Linked DNA regions of Homo sapiens: regions 1, 3 and 4 are each linked to region 2. Evidence: promoter capture Hi-C in 16 types of primary human blood cells and fetal thymus (Javierre and others, 2016). All regions are on one chromosome and are shown on one strand. The core of a region is centred on a gene start or on the middle of the fragment in contact, and the rest is flanking DNA. Distances in the headings are between cores, read along the strand shown.

Region 1 (3,753 bases), core at 714-3,213, 710 kb before region 2:
CAAAGCAAAGGCAATGGGCAATTTACTAAAGTTGACAGAGCAAATTCAGTTAATTCATTCACATTATTTCAGTCTGTAGTCATGTCAACAAAATCATTCTGATCTATTCTTTCATTTCCTCCCCTCATTAAGTTGCTCTAAAGTACCCTAGTATATACTTCTCTCTAGGGCCTGCTTTTCTGATGTCAGATATGTATGGTCTATACAGAAAGTTGCAGGTGCCAAAACTAGTAACTGTTAATACATTAACAAGAGCTCTTCTCATTGAAAACTAATTGTTCTTATGCTTAAAATGCAGTATCATCTAAGTGTTCAGATTCATAAAGACAGAACAGTAAGAGTATGTTTAAGACACATTAAGTACATATTATCCCTAAAGTATCAAGACTACTTGATACAGTCACCTCTTTTGCTGGCATGTTATAGGTGTTACTCCCTTTTTAAGAGCATGTGATCAAAGACAAAACTGTGTGCTACCTACCTGGGCTTCCTCCTCTTCAGTAAAGTCATTTTTGATATTGAAGGTCTTGCGAATCTCCTCAGGAGTTTTCCCCTTGATCATATTGGCAACAGTCTTGCATGTAACATCAAGCAAACCTTTGATGTCTAAGTAGTTTGCAGCCTGTAAAGAGACAGTTGTTTTCCTTAAAGTATACTTGATGTTTTAAACTAAATCCAAAGTTAATGATTGACACTCCGTATCTAATAAAGCTTAAAATGCTAATTTTAAGAAATTAAAGGGAGAAGAATAAATCACTCCTAAGTTCTTCTGTGAAAGACTTTTATGTGACCTTCTTTGTTATACCTCTATAATGTTGAATCCTTCTGCTTCCTTAACCAAACTATACTAGCTCAAATGTGAAATAACGGCCACTACTGTTGTGTATGTGTGTACACATGCACACAAATACCACATCAGGTCTTGGCAAAAATATTTGTCCACACTTAAAGAGTTCAAACGTAAGCAGTTATAGCACTATATTGATCTCATTTTAAAAAACAGGTTTTGGTTTCATTGACTTTATTGTTTACCTGTTTTCTATTTCATTGATTTCTGCCCTTTAATATTCTCATTCTTCTGTTTACTTTGTAGTTAATTTCATCTTTTACTAGTTTAAGGTGGAAGCTTAGATCACCGATTTGAAACTTTTCTTCTTTTCTAATAATATAGGTATTTCATTCCATCAATTTCCCTCTAAGTACTTCTTTAGCTGCATCTCACCGATTTTTCATGTGTTTTACTTCCACTCAGCTCAAAATACTTTCTATTTCTTCTCTGACCCATAGGTTACTTGCAAATGTGTTAGTTTAAAAGTAGTTGCAGATTTTTCCAGATACCTTTCTGTTTGTGATTTCTAATTCCATTGCAGTCAGAAGACATACTTTGTATGACCTGAATCCTTTTACAATGGAGACTTTTTTTTTAAGACACCGTCTCACTCTGTCACCCAGGCTGGAATTCAGTGGCGTGATCTCGGCTCACTGCAATCTCTACCTCCTAGGTTCAGCCAATTCTCTTGCTTCAGTCTCCCAAGTAGCTGGGATTACAGGTGGGTGCCATCTCACCCAGCTAATTTTTTTTTTTTTTTTTTGAGACGAAGTCTCGCTCTGTCACCCAGGCTGGAGGGCAGTGGTGCGATATCGGCTCACTGCAAGCTCCACCTCCCGGGTTCATGCCATTCTCCTGCCTCGGCCTCCCGAGTAGCTGAGACTACAGGTTCCTGCCACCCCACCCGGCTAATTTTCTATATTTTCAGTAGAGACGGGGTTTCACCATGTTAGCCAGGATGGTCTCGATTTCCTGACCTCGTGATCCGCCCACCTTGGCCTCCCAAAGTGCTGGGATTATAGGCGTGAGCCACCGCGCCCGGCCTAATTTTCGTATTTTTAGTAGAGATGGGGTTTCATCATGCTGGCCAGGCTGGTCTTGAACTCCTAGCCTCAAGTGATCCACCCGCCTCACCCTCCCAAAGTGTTGGGATCACAGGCGTGAGCCACCGCACCCAGCTGAGACTTGTTTTATGGCCCAGAACATGGTCTATTTGGTAATATACACTTGAAAAGAATATGTATTCTGCTATCATTACATATAATGTTTTAGGCCAGGCGCGGTGGCTCACACCTGTAATCCCAACACTTTGGGAGGCCTAGGTAGGTGGATCACCTGAGGTCAGGAGTTCAAGACCATCCTGGCCAACATGGTGAAACCCCATCTCTACTAAAAATACAAAAACTTAGCTGAGCATGGTGGCTCATGCCTGTAATCTCAGCTACTCAGGAGGCTGAGGCAGGAGAATTGCTTGAACCTGGGAGGTGGAGGTTGCAGTGAGCCAAAATCATGCCACTGCACCACAGCCTGTGTGACAAGAGTGAAACTCTGTCTCAAAAATATATATATATATAATATTTTATAAATATCCATTAAGACAATTTGGTCAATAGTGTTATATCAAGTTATCCTGATTTCTGTCTAGTTATATTAATTGAGAGAGGTGCTGAAATCTCTATGATTGTCACTTTGTGGACTTCTTTGAGTTCTATTGGGTTTTGTTTCACTTCTTGGAAGTTCTGCTTCTAGCCAGATAAAAATTTATAATTGTTATGTCTTTTTAAAAAACTGATCCCCTTATCAGTATGAAATAATCCTCTTTAACCCTGGTAATATTCTTTGCCTCCAAACCTATTTTAATATAGTCACTCCAGCTTTCTTTTGATTCGTGTTAGTGTACCGTATCTTCTTCCATTCTTTAAACCTAGTTCTGTCTATATATTTAAAGCGGGTTTCTTACAGACAGCACAGCTAAGCTTGCTTTTCTGATCTGGTAATTTCTGCCTTTTAACTGTGTTTAGACCATTTACATTTAGTGTGTTACTGATATGTGGATTTAAATATGGCGTTACATTTGAATTTAGAGAGTATTAAAATTCAGTGTCAATGAAGTTAGCAAATTTAAATCTATAAGAAGTGTTTAAAGGCTCTAGAGTAGAGCTATCTTACACATTAAAAACTTACCAGAATGAGTTCAAAAAGTGTTCCTTGGTCAACTTTCAGGAATTCTTGGTCCCAAACAGGGATATCATCTGTTCGCTTTTCTTTGTTCTCATCATCTTCAGGAGGAGGAGGGTCATCCTTGTGGTGGGTGCACCACTGAATGACCTACAACAACAAAAGTTCATTCCTCTGTGGCACTTTGTCACAAGGTACTCATTCCACTGCTGGGACAACTTATCCCTATATTGGAATAATAACTAGCTAGAGGTTGACTTGAGCCATTAACAGCCAAGCTTGAAAAACAAAAATGAAGCTTGAAGAATCATTATAACCCTAGAAGGGAGAAGATCTTATTAGATAAAAGCAAGCCATGCAGACAGAGTACTGTACTTGACTACATTAAAAAGCTTCTATGCAAAAAGAAAAGTTAGGACAATGACTGGAAGATACCTGCAATATGTACAACAATGATTAGCTGAGAGAATATAAAATCTTTCAAAAATCATTAAAGAGAAATGGGTTAATATGTACAGCCAATAAATGAAATCTGAATAGCCAAACATAAGGAACGCTCAACTTTACTAGAAGCAAAACTAACACTACAGATACTTCTCTAGATTGAAAAAAAATCAAGAAACTGATACTAATTGTTGGGCAATAGTGGAAAGGAAACACAAACTCTTCTAGAGAGTATAAATTGGTATAACCCCTTTGAAAGCTAATCCAGCACTCCTCAGAAAAGCTGAATATGTACATATATT
Region 2 (3,255 bases), core at 296-2,795:
CAAATCATGTATGGGGGTATGAGAAAGATAGTTTAAAAAGGAAAGGTTTGTTGTTCCACTGTTAGGGGTGAGGGAGGTACTTAGCGAAATGATGACTAGTAATAAGCTCTAGAACTGTGGGCTCTTTTATCCATGTCCATTGTTTCATATTCTTCTGGACCCACAAGATGGCACTTGAGGATCTACAACAGCAAAACCATACCAACGTATTTAGAATAAAAGAATCATCCACAGGGACAGATTAATGATGCATCTTTCTGGCCTAACAGTGTCTTTTTGATGGGCATAGAGATAAGGGGACTATGGCCACACCATCAGAATTGTATTATTCAATTAATAATGCCTACCACTTTGAAATGCTTCCTGTGCCCCAGGACACTGTGCTCATCACTTTACATCTCATTTCATCTATAAGACTCTATATAACGTCATTTCCACTTTACAGCTGAAGAAACTTAACTTTAAGTTACATAACCTGCTGACTGTGAACTATCACATGTGCTGAAGTTGGGATTCACCAAGCGGCCAAAAAGCACAGGTTCCCCTTACCATTGCTATGTTAACCAATAGACTGATGTATTTTAAATCAGTTTCTATTTTTTCAACCTCATAAGTTTGAAAAGCTGCACTCTGCACTGATTTAGCACTGACTGGTGGCTGCTTAAAGCTTGCCTTATTCCATTTTAGCAGGCCCCCCGGCAAAATACCCCAATTAGTGGTGTCATCCTCTCTATTCCAAGAATTTTCTCTTAAGACTCCCGCTCTGTGCGTTTGCTTGGGAATGCAGAGCCCTGTTCCTCATCTCCCCATCTATGCTTTCTTCATTCTAAGCCCTTTCCTATCTACTTTATGCTCGAGGTGGCTCCACCTCCACCATGAGCCAGAGCCAATGATGCTCACGGCCCCAACCATGATTAAAAAGAGATTGCCCTGCAAGGTAAATCAGTTAAAACCAACCTCTCCTGCCCTGAGTGGATAGGTAGGGTTAGGGTTGCCAGATGTCACGAAGTTACAGGATGCTCAGTTTTAAGGTATATCCCTTATACTATAAGGGTTATAGTAAAAAATATTCATTATGTGAAATTCAAATATAACTGGGTATCAGGTATTCTATGTGGCAACCCTAGGTAGGGGAGCACAGGTTAGGCAAGCGATTAGAAGATTTGCAGCCTCCAAAGTTTCTGCACCTCGATGGGACACTAGAACAGGAAGGCTCCTGGGCCTTTCTGGCTCTGGGAATGAAGCGTGGAAAACCCTCCTTAGGCGGGCGCAGTGCTTCAAGTAGCCAAGCTCTGACTTCCGAGGGAAGAAAGGAGGCCATGGGCCTCTGCCAGAGCCATGCTCTGCACTCTGGGGTCAGCAGAGTTCAAAACGACCTGCAACGTCTGGCGCTTAGCTCCTAAAGAGGTCTCCAGTCCAGCGCCGACGGCCAGCGGCTAGAGGCCGTCCGCCCGACTCCAAGATGGCGCCCGCCACAGCTGCCAGGTGTTAAGATGGCGGCGCGGGGCCGCGCCCGCGCTCCCAGGCTCTCCTCCCCCAGCCTTCCTCCGGCTGGCAGCACGACTCGCGTAGCCGTGCGCCGATTGCCTCTCGGCCTGGGCAATGGTCCCGGCTGCCGGTCGACGACCGCCCCGCGTCATGCGGCTCCTCGGCTGGTGGCAAGTATTGCTGTGGGTGCTGGGACTTCCCGTCCGCGGCGTGGAGGGTGAGTGTGGGCCGGGGGCGGTGCATGAGATGATGGGGCGAGCTGAGGTCCACCCGGGCGACGCTCTGGACCTGCGCGAAGGCCGGCGGTGCGCGACTCGCCCCTTCTTGGCGTCTCCCCGGGCGCGTCTCCCCGACTTCTCTCCCCGCGCACCGCCCGCTGGTGGCCCGCGAAAGGGGGCCGGTGGGCTGAGGGCCGGTGGACGGGAGCCCGGGGGTGGTTGGGCCGCGTTCAGGCCGCCCTCAGCCCGTGGCTGGTAGCCAGGAGGGACAGTGCGGTAAGCGCTGCTGAGGCATACCCTCTGGTGATAAGCAATTTATTATTAATAACATTATATCAAATACCGACATTGTTGTGGCCGTATTAGGAGCCAGGAACTGTGCATCGTGCTTTATTTACATCATTATCCCATTTAATGCTCCCACAAACCCTGTCAGATCGGTTCCGTTTAGTGTCTCCATTTCACAGATGAAGATGCTCAGGCCCCGCCTAAGTTTGCGCTTCTGATACGTGGCAGAAGCCTGTCTCTCTGACGCCAAAGCCCAGTCTGGAGTCCACGCTGCTGGACCACTGTCTTAAGGAGGCCAGTCTTGCTCAGCTCCCTGCATGAAAAACAGACGAGAAACACGGGAGACTCCCGGTAACCCCCAACTTGCCGGTAGGGAAGGCAGCCACTCTAGAGGCATGGCGAGGGTGGAGAGTGGAGGCCTTACTTTCATGCTCCTTCACCCCACTCCTCATAGTCCTGTTAAAGTCCAGACCCTCGGTCTCGCTTGTCATTTAGACCTTAACAGGAATAGGCAGGTCTTTCTTTTCCCTGGGGTGTCCTGGATGGAGGCAGGACAGCAGAGAGTTGTGGAGAAGGGTGAGTCATAGTAACACAATTACCATGAATGAAAGCGCTCACTGTGTACCAGATGCTGTGCTCAGTGCTTTACGAGCATCATCTTTTGGAATCTTTACTGTTTTGTTTTTGTTTTTTTAAGGGATGAGGGCTTGCTCTGTTGCCCAGGCGGGAGTGCAGTGGCCCATCATGGCTCCCTGCAGCCTTGAACTCCTGGGCTTAAGTGATCCTCCCACCTGTTTCCCAAAGTGCTGGGATTACAGATGTGAGCCACTGCTCCCGGTTTATGTAATTTTTATTTTTATTTTTTTTTGAGATGGAGTCTCGCTCTGTTGCCCAGGCTGGAGTGCAGTGGCGCGATCTTGGCTCACTGCAACCTCTGACTCCCGGGTTCAAGCGATTCTCGTGCCTCAGCCTCCTGAGTAGCTGGGATTACAGGTGCCTGCCACCACACTGGGCTAATTTTTGTATTTTTAGTAGAGATGATGGTCCACCATGTTGGCCACGCTGGTCTGGAACTCCTGACCTCAGGTGATCCACCCACCTCGGCCTCCCAGAGTGCTGGGATTACAGGCTTGAGCCACCGTGCCTGGCCTTAGTAATTTTTAAATGCATATGCAGTAGATGTTATCATGCTCATTTTATAGAAGTAACTTAAGACTCAGAGCCAATAAGTCCTTTGACAAGGTCATACAGCCAGAAGTTG
Region 3 (3,355 bases), core at 708-3,207, 900 kb before region 2:
TCTTTATCAAACACCAGAACCTCCCAGTCTTCAAATATGCACCAGTACCCTAAGACAGCTCTTTCCCTTTCACTTTCCCTCTCGGAAATATTCCATTGGTTCAGTCCAGTCACTGGATTACTGCCCCTGCCCGCCTCGGTCTTTACCACTGACCTCTCCCATTCTGGAAAACCCCCACCTTTCCTTGGTCCTGCAAGATTCCTGAGTCCCCCAAACTCAGGACCCTTTCCAGACACCACACCCCCAGCCCCGGCCACCTCCTCAGCCCCTGTCGCCACCCTCTCTTCCAGAGTCTCCTAACTTTCCGATCCAAGAAATTTTGGAGACCCCACCACCGCCATTCCTTGCGGCAGCCCATTCTTCAACGATCTCTAGGCGCTAACACCACTCCTCCCTCCCCGCCCATCTACACACCCTGCTGCCTGCTCCCTGGGTTCCTGCATCTCTCAGGGACCCCGCTTCTCAGGCCCCTTGGAGACCCTACCACCTTGGACCCCTTCAGACACCATACCCTCCGTCCTCAGGCCCGCGGAGACCCTGACCCAACCAGACACCGCCGTCTGCTCCTGACACTTGGAAGCGCCCTTTCCCTGGCCCGGCCTGTCTCCTGCCCTGCGCCCGAGCCCTCCTAGCCTTCCTAAGCCCACACTGCCGCCCCCCTTTACCACTGGATAGAGCGGCGGACACAAGCAGGAGCGCCAAGACCAGCGGCCGCGCCAACCCCACAAGGGCTTGGATGGCCGACCCGGGCAGCAGTTTCGCTTGTGCTGGCCCCCTCATCCTCTTCGGGACGGCAGCGGCCATAACGGACTCGGCTGGGAGCCTGCGCTGTTGCTAGGCTCTACGCCATGAGGTCAGACGCCGCGGCCCTCGGCACATACGTCCCAGCGTGGTGACGTCGAAGCCTGGAGACGTGCTCTGGAAACCGGAATAAGAAGGAAGGATTGCAGGGAGGAGGGAGTTGCCGCTAGGCGAAAGTGGGGACCGCCACACAGTTGGCTGCGGATTAAAGGTAGGGTGTGACGTGCTGAAGAGGGCCAAAGCGAGCCCCTCCCTGCCGCCTGCATGATTGGGTACTATACAGCCAAAAATAGCGTTTTTAGCCATTTTAAAAAGGAAGATCCAGCTGTAGAACAGACTGATCACGAAAGCGAAGTAACTGCTCTTCCTCTCTCAAAGGCGAAAGAAACACAAATGTTAAGTAGTCCTATTTCGGTGATGGGATTATAAGTAATTTTTAAAAATCTTTCCCGACAGTCATTTATTTTTTTTCAACAAAGATTTAGCACCTCTCCCTATTTAAGATACAGCAGTGAACAAAAAGAACCCCCCACCCCCCCGCCCGCCTTGGCAGTTTATTTTCTTGTGAGGGCGAATATGGTGTAAAATACACACTATACAAGATGATAAAGATATTATGGACCGGCCCTAGTGCAGTGGCTCCCAGCACTTTGGGAGGCCGAGGAGGGCAGATCACCTGAGGTCCGGAGTTGGAGACCAGCCTGGCCAACATGGAGAAACCCCGACTCTACTAAAAATACAAAAATTAGCCAGGCGTGGTGGCGCGTGCCTGTAATCGCAGCTACTCGGGAGGCTGAGGTAGGAGAATCGCTGTAACCCGGGAGGTGGAGGCTGCAGGGAGCCGAGATGCCACTGCACTCTAGCCTGGGCCACAGACTCCGTCTCAAAAAAAAAAAAAAAATTATGGAGGAAAAGAAAGGAAGGTAGCTAGGAAGTAGAGGTGAGGGGCTGCCATTGAAAATAACTTTCAGATTTCCTAAAATAAGCTTCTCTTTTTAAATTTTGTTACTTGAAATCCCCAGTGTATAAAAATGCAAACTTACAAACTTCCAAGAAGTTCACCTAGGGCCCTGGCGCCATACTTTGCTCTGTGTGTACGTTCTGTAAATGTCTCCTTAATAAACAGATACAGGCTTCAATTCATAAAAGTTCCATTTGATCAATTTCAGGAAAATCAATGTGACGTTAAGCAAGACATTTATTGTGCCCACAGCTTCACCATTCTGGTCTCTATGATTCCCTGCGAAGATTGCTGTTATCCCCCAGAGACACAGCTGAGCTGTCTCTCTAAAGGGCCTGTGTTCTACTCCTGAATCTGGTTTCCCCTAAGCTTTTATCTCACCCTGGTGACAGCTCAGAAACACACAAACTCTGTGTTAAGAAAACTAAGAAGTCATTCATCTGCACATTTCCCGAAATCCCCCAGAAGCCCGTATTAGACTGAATGGTGTCCTTATTGCAAACTCTCCACTTTAGCCAAGGTGCAAAGTCCTCCCAGTCCCCCAGGAGCTTCCCTTCTCTGAGCGGTACTTAAGTTTTCTGTAAAACCACTCAGTTCAACAAATGAGCTTCTCAATCTTAGTTTCTGCTTGTTGACTTTAAAGTTAATCTATAATAAACACACTGCAGTCCTCTTCCCTGACTCATTGTCCACTTTGTCCATTTGTGTCCTCATACCAGATTGTCTCAATTCTCTTAACTGGTGAGATATTATGAACTCAAAGCATTTTGCACAATGATATTCCAACATGCTGCATGCAACAAGCAGACAATAAGTAACTAGTGAGGGAAATATTCCCTCATACTCAAGAGAACCCTTTATACATTTTTAAATATTTTAGGGCCAGGCTTATGCCTGTAATCCCAAGTACTCGGGAGGCTGAGATGGGAGGATCACAGGAGCCCAGGAGTTCAAGGCTGCAGTGAGCTATGATGATGACAGTGCACTTCAGTCTGGGTGACAGAGTAAGACTGTCTCTAAAAGTAAAATATCTTAATACTGTACCTGACATCTGACTAGATGTACCCAGCAACCACTATGTGCCATAATCTCTGGATAAATTCTATGAACATTCACTTAGAAATAGCTGCAAGTCCCTGAAGACAGTATGACAAATACTGAGGCCCACAGTTTTTGGGTGATCAGTTGCATAAAATGCTAAAATAGATGGTTCCTGTTTTGAATGTCACTTTCAAACATAGAAAAAAAAGGAATTCTGCTGAAAAATCATGAATGGAAAAAAATGTTCATATTTGTTGAAGCTGGATCATGCATAGAGTTTATTACTATTTGTGTTTCCACAATAGGCTGGATGTGGTGGCTCACGCCTGTAATCCCAGCACTTTTGGAGGCCAAGGTGAGCAGATCACCTGAGGTCAGGAGTTTGAGACCAGCCTGACCAACATGGAGAAACCCCATCTCTACTAAAAATACAAAATTAGCCGGGTGTGGTGGCAAATGTTTGTAATCCTAGCTACTCGGGAGGCTGAGGCAGGAGAATTGCTTGAACCCAGGAGGCGGGGAGGCTGAGGCAGGAGAATTGCTTGAACCCAG
Region 4 (3,307 bases), core at 301-2,800, 660 kb before region 2:
TACTTGGGAGGCTGAGGTAGGAGAATCACTTGAACCTGGGAGGCGAGGTTGCAGTGAGCGGAGACCGCACCACTGCACTCCAGCCTGGGTGACAGTGAGACTCCATCTCAAAAATAGTAATTTCCTTAAGAGCACACAATAACTACAGGCATGCCTCATTTTACTGTGCTTCTCTTTATTGCACTTTGCATATGTTGCATTTTTTTAATCAATCAAAGCTTCATGGCAACCCTGTGTGGAGCAAGTTTATCAGCACCATTTTCCCACCAGCATGTGCTCACTTCTTGTCTTTGTCACATCTTGGTACTTCTAAAATTATTTCAAACTTTTTCATTACTATTGTATCTGTTATGGTGATATGTGATCAGTGATCTTTGATGTTACTATTGTAATTGCTGTGGGGCACTACCAACCGTGCCCATAAGACAATGAACTTAATAAATGTCGTATATATTCTTACTGCTGCTGACTGGCCATTCTGTCTCTCCCTCTCCTTGGGCCTCCCTATCCCCTGAGACACAATATTGAAATTAGGCCAATTAATAACCCTACAATGGCCTCCAAATGCTCAAGTGAAAGGAAGAGTTGCATATCTCTCACTTTAAATGAAAAGTTAGAAATTATTAAACTTAGGAGAGGGCATATGGAAACTCCAGACAGGCCTAAAGGTAGGCTTCTTGCACCAAACTGCTAAGGTATAAATGCAAAGGAAAAGTTCTTTAAGGAAATTAGAAATGCTACTTCAGTGAACACACAAATAGTAAGTAAGCCAAACAGTCTTATTGCAGATACGGACAAAGTTTTAGTGGTCTGGATAGATCAAATCAGCCACAACATTCGCTTAAAAGCCAAAGCCTAATTCAGAGGTAGGTCCTAATTCTTCAATTCTATAAAGGCTAATAGAGGTGAGGAAGCTGCAGAAGTTAAGCTTAAAGCTAGCAGACTGGTTCATGAGATTTAAGAACCCATTTCCATAACATAAAAGGGCAAGATAAGGCATCAAGTACCAATATAAAAACTACAACAAGTTTCCCAGACGATCTACCTAAGATAAGTGATGAAGGTGGTTGCACTAAACAACAGGTTTTCAATGTAGACGAAATAGCCTTCTAGTGGAAGAAGATGCCACTTAGGACTTTACTAGCTAGAGAAGTCAATGCCTGCCCTCAAACCCTCAACGGACAGGCTGACTCTTGTTAGAGGCTAATGTAGCTGGTGACTTTCAGTTGAAGCCAAGGCTCATTCAACATTCTGAAAGCATTTAAGCCATTCTTTAGCACTTAAGAATTATGCTAAATCTACTACGCCTGTGCTCTAGAAATGGAACAACAAAGCCTGGATGACAGCACATCTGCTTACAGCACGGTATACTGAATATTTTAAGTGCATTACTGAGACCTACTGCTCAGAAAAAAAAAAAAGATTCCTTTCAAAATATTACTGCTCAGCCTGGGCAACACACCAAAACCCCATCTCTACAAAAAAATTAAAATATTAGCTGGGCATAGTGGTACACACCTGTAGTACCAGCTACTTGGAAGGCTGTGGCAGGAGGATTGCTTGAGCTCAGGAGTTCAAGATCAGCCTGGGCAATGTGGCGAGACCCTGTCTCTACGAAAAATAAAAATTAGCTAGGCATGGTGGTGCACTCTGTGGTCCCAGCTGCTAAGGAGGCTAAGGCAGAAGAATCACTTGAGCCCAGGAGTTCAAGGTTCCAGTGAACTATGATGATGTCACTGTACTTCAGCCTGGGCAACAACACCATCTCAAAATAAATAAATAAAAGCACAAAATGATTACAACCATGTCACAATTCTTTGCATTAAAAAAAGGCTGAAAAGCCCAGGCACAGTGGCTCACGCCTGTAATTCTATCACTTTGGGAGCCAAAGCAGGTGGATGACTTTAGGTCAAGAGTTTGGGACCAGCCTGGCCAACACGGTAAAACCCCATCTCTACTAAAAATACAAAAATCAGCCAGGTAAGATGGCACAGGCCTGTAATCCCAGCTACTTGGGAGGCTGTGGCATGAGAATTATTGGAACCCAGGAGGCAGAGGTTGCAGTGAGCTGAGATCGTGCCACTGCACTCCAGCCTATGCAACACAGTAAGACTCTCTCTCAAAACTAACAAAAAAAGGCTAAAAAAAAAATTAAAAGGTTAAGATTTCACTGAAAGCTTTAAGATATATAACTATCTTATTCTTACCAACCAGAACTCTTCTCATTTCTATTACCTTTCAGTTTTTACCCACACAGACCTCTTACTTATAATTGACTGGCATCTCATTTTGTGTCCTAAAGTTTCATACTAACTCGTTTCTACATTATAGTGATTTTTTAAAACTACATAATGCCCTTCTAAATAGACCTATACGTGTACAGTATTATTGCTCATTTGAATTATTTCCTTTCAAAAAGCTTTAATTGTGGGATTACAGGGCAAAATAGCATTAACTTTTTTTGTTTCATATGTACTATAAAACTCAATTATGCCAATTTGTTATACAATAATAAATGAAAGAATATACTCATTCTCAGCTATTTCAGATATACAATGTGGTATCACTAATTTAATTGGCATTTTTCATTTCTGAGTACAAACTTTTTATTCCATGTTTATTTACCATCAGTTATTTCTCCTCTTATACAAGTTGTCCATGAATATTTTTGAACATCTGATCATTAAGAGCTAGATGATGTTCTGAAGTATTTGTATAAACTATTTTAAACTGTTATTTTAAGTAACTTTTTGGCATTTTGTTTCTCTTATTTTTTAAATATATAGCCAGAAATTTTCTATGCCCATTTTTGCTTTGTAATTTTTCTCCTACAATTATTAAGAAAAGTTATCACGTCTTGCCATTTTCTAAGAGTTTTTCATTTTAAAATCTATACTTTAATCCTAAGATTACACGACAACTACTCAAGCTTCTTTTTATATCAGCATCTTAAACTTGCATCGTTAACATTATGACATTAACTTTAAATGTTTAATAATGACCTTGAAGTATTTTGGAATCCTGCATCCAAGAAAAAAAAAATCAATCAATTGGGACCTAGGGCTTGAGAAGTGTCTAATATTTATTTACTTTTTTTTTTTTTTTTTGAGACAAGTTCTTGCTCTGTTCCCCAGGCTTCGAGTGCTGTAGCATGATCACAGCTCATTGCAGTCTAGATCTCCTGGACCCAAGCAATCCTCTTGCCTCAGCCTCACAGAGTAGCTAGAACCACAGGTGTGCCACCACACCCAACTAATTTATTTTTAAAAATTATTCGTAGGGCTGGGTGCAGTGGCTCACGCCTGTA

The links. The method cuts DNA at HindIII sites, captures the fragments that hold promoters and counts their contacts. A CHiCAGO score of 5 or more calls a contact.
Region 1: a fragment that was not itself captured here is called in contact with the fragment with the promoter of TXNDC15 in region 2 in 4 of 17 cell types (activated CD4 T cells, naive CD8 T cells, naive CD4 T cells and 1 more); the score reaches 6.6 in activated CD4 T cells.
Region 3: a fragment that was not itself captured here is called in contact with the fragment with the promoter of TXNDC15 in region 2 in 6 of 17 cell types (total CD8 T cells, fetal thymus, activated CD4 T cells and 3 more); the score reaches 9.0 in total CD8 T cells.
Region 4: a contact is called between a fragment that was not itself captured here and the fragment with the promoter of TXNDC15 in region 2, in 1 of 17 cell types (fetal thymus). The highest score is 5.0, in fetal thymus.

Annotation. Positions count from the first base shown.
Region 1 is chr5:134,157,974-134,161,726 of GRCh38, forward strand. SKP1 (S-phase kinase associated protein 1) reads right to left here. Exons shown (of 6, transcript NM_170679.3): 4 at 3,014-3,157; 5 at 482-622. Among named protein-coding and RNA genes, the nearest start is that of SKP1, 17 kb to the right of the region's middle. The HindIII fragment of the contact is 1,679 bases long and covers 1,125-2,803 here.
Region 2 is chr5:134,872,826-134,876,080 of GRCh38, forward strand. TXNDC15 (thioredoxin domain containing 15) reads left to right here and starts at 1,546. Exons shown (of 5, transcript NM_024715.4): 1 at 1,546-1,705. The coding sequence starts at 1,603. LOC124901071 (a long non-coding RNA gene) reads right to left here and starts at 2,573. Exons shown (of 2, transcript XR_007058943.1): 1 at 2,419-2,573; 2 at 2,006-2,307. RefSeq lists enhancers at 1,222-1,271, 1,292-1,581, 1,513-2,218, 2,112-2,181 and a silencer at 1,822-1,931. The HindIII fragment of the contact is 3,704 bases long and covers 666-3,255 here.
Region 3 is chr5:133,967,781-133,971,135 of GRCh38, forward strand. It overlaps C5orf15 (chromosome 5 open reading frame 15), which reads right to left and starts at 845. Exons shown (of 3, transcript NM_020199.3): 1 at 666-845. The coding sequence starts at 804. It overlaps LOC105379183 (a long non-coding RNA gene), which reads left to right and starts at 909. Exons shown (of 2, transcript NR_134247.1): 1 at 909-1,012; 2 at 1,971-2,443. RefSeq lists enhancers at 39-138, 769-988. The HindIII fragment of the contact is 344 bases long and covers 1,786-2,129 here.
Region 4 is chr5:134,212,008-134,215,314 of GRCh38, forward strand. All of the region lies in intron 1 of PPP2CA (protein phosphatase 2 catalytic subunit alpha), which reads right to left. Among named protein-coding and RNA genes, the nearest start is that of MIR3661, 12 kb to the right of the region's middle. The HindIII fragment of the contact is 1,249 bases long and covers 927-2,175 here.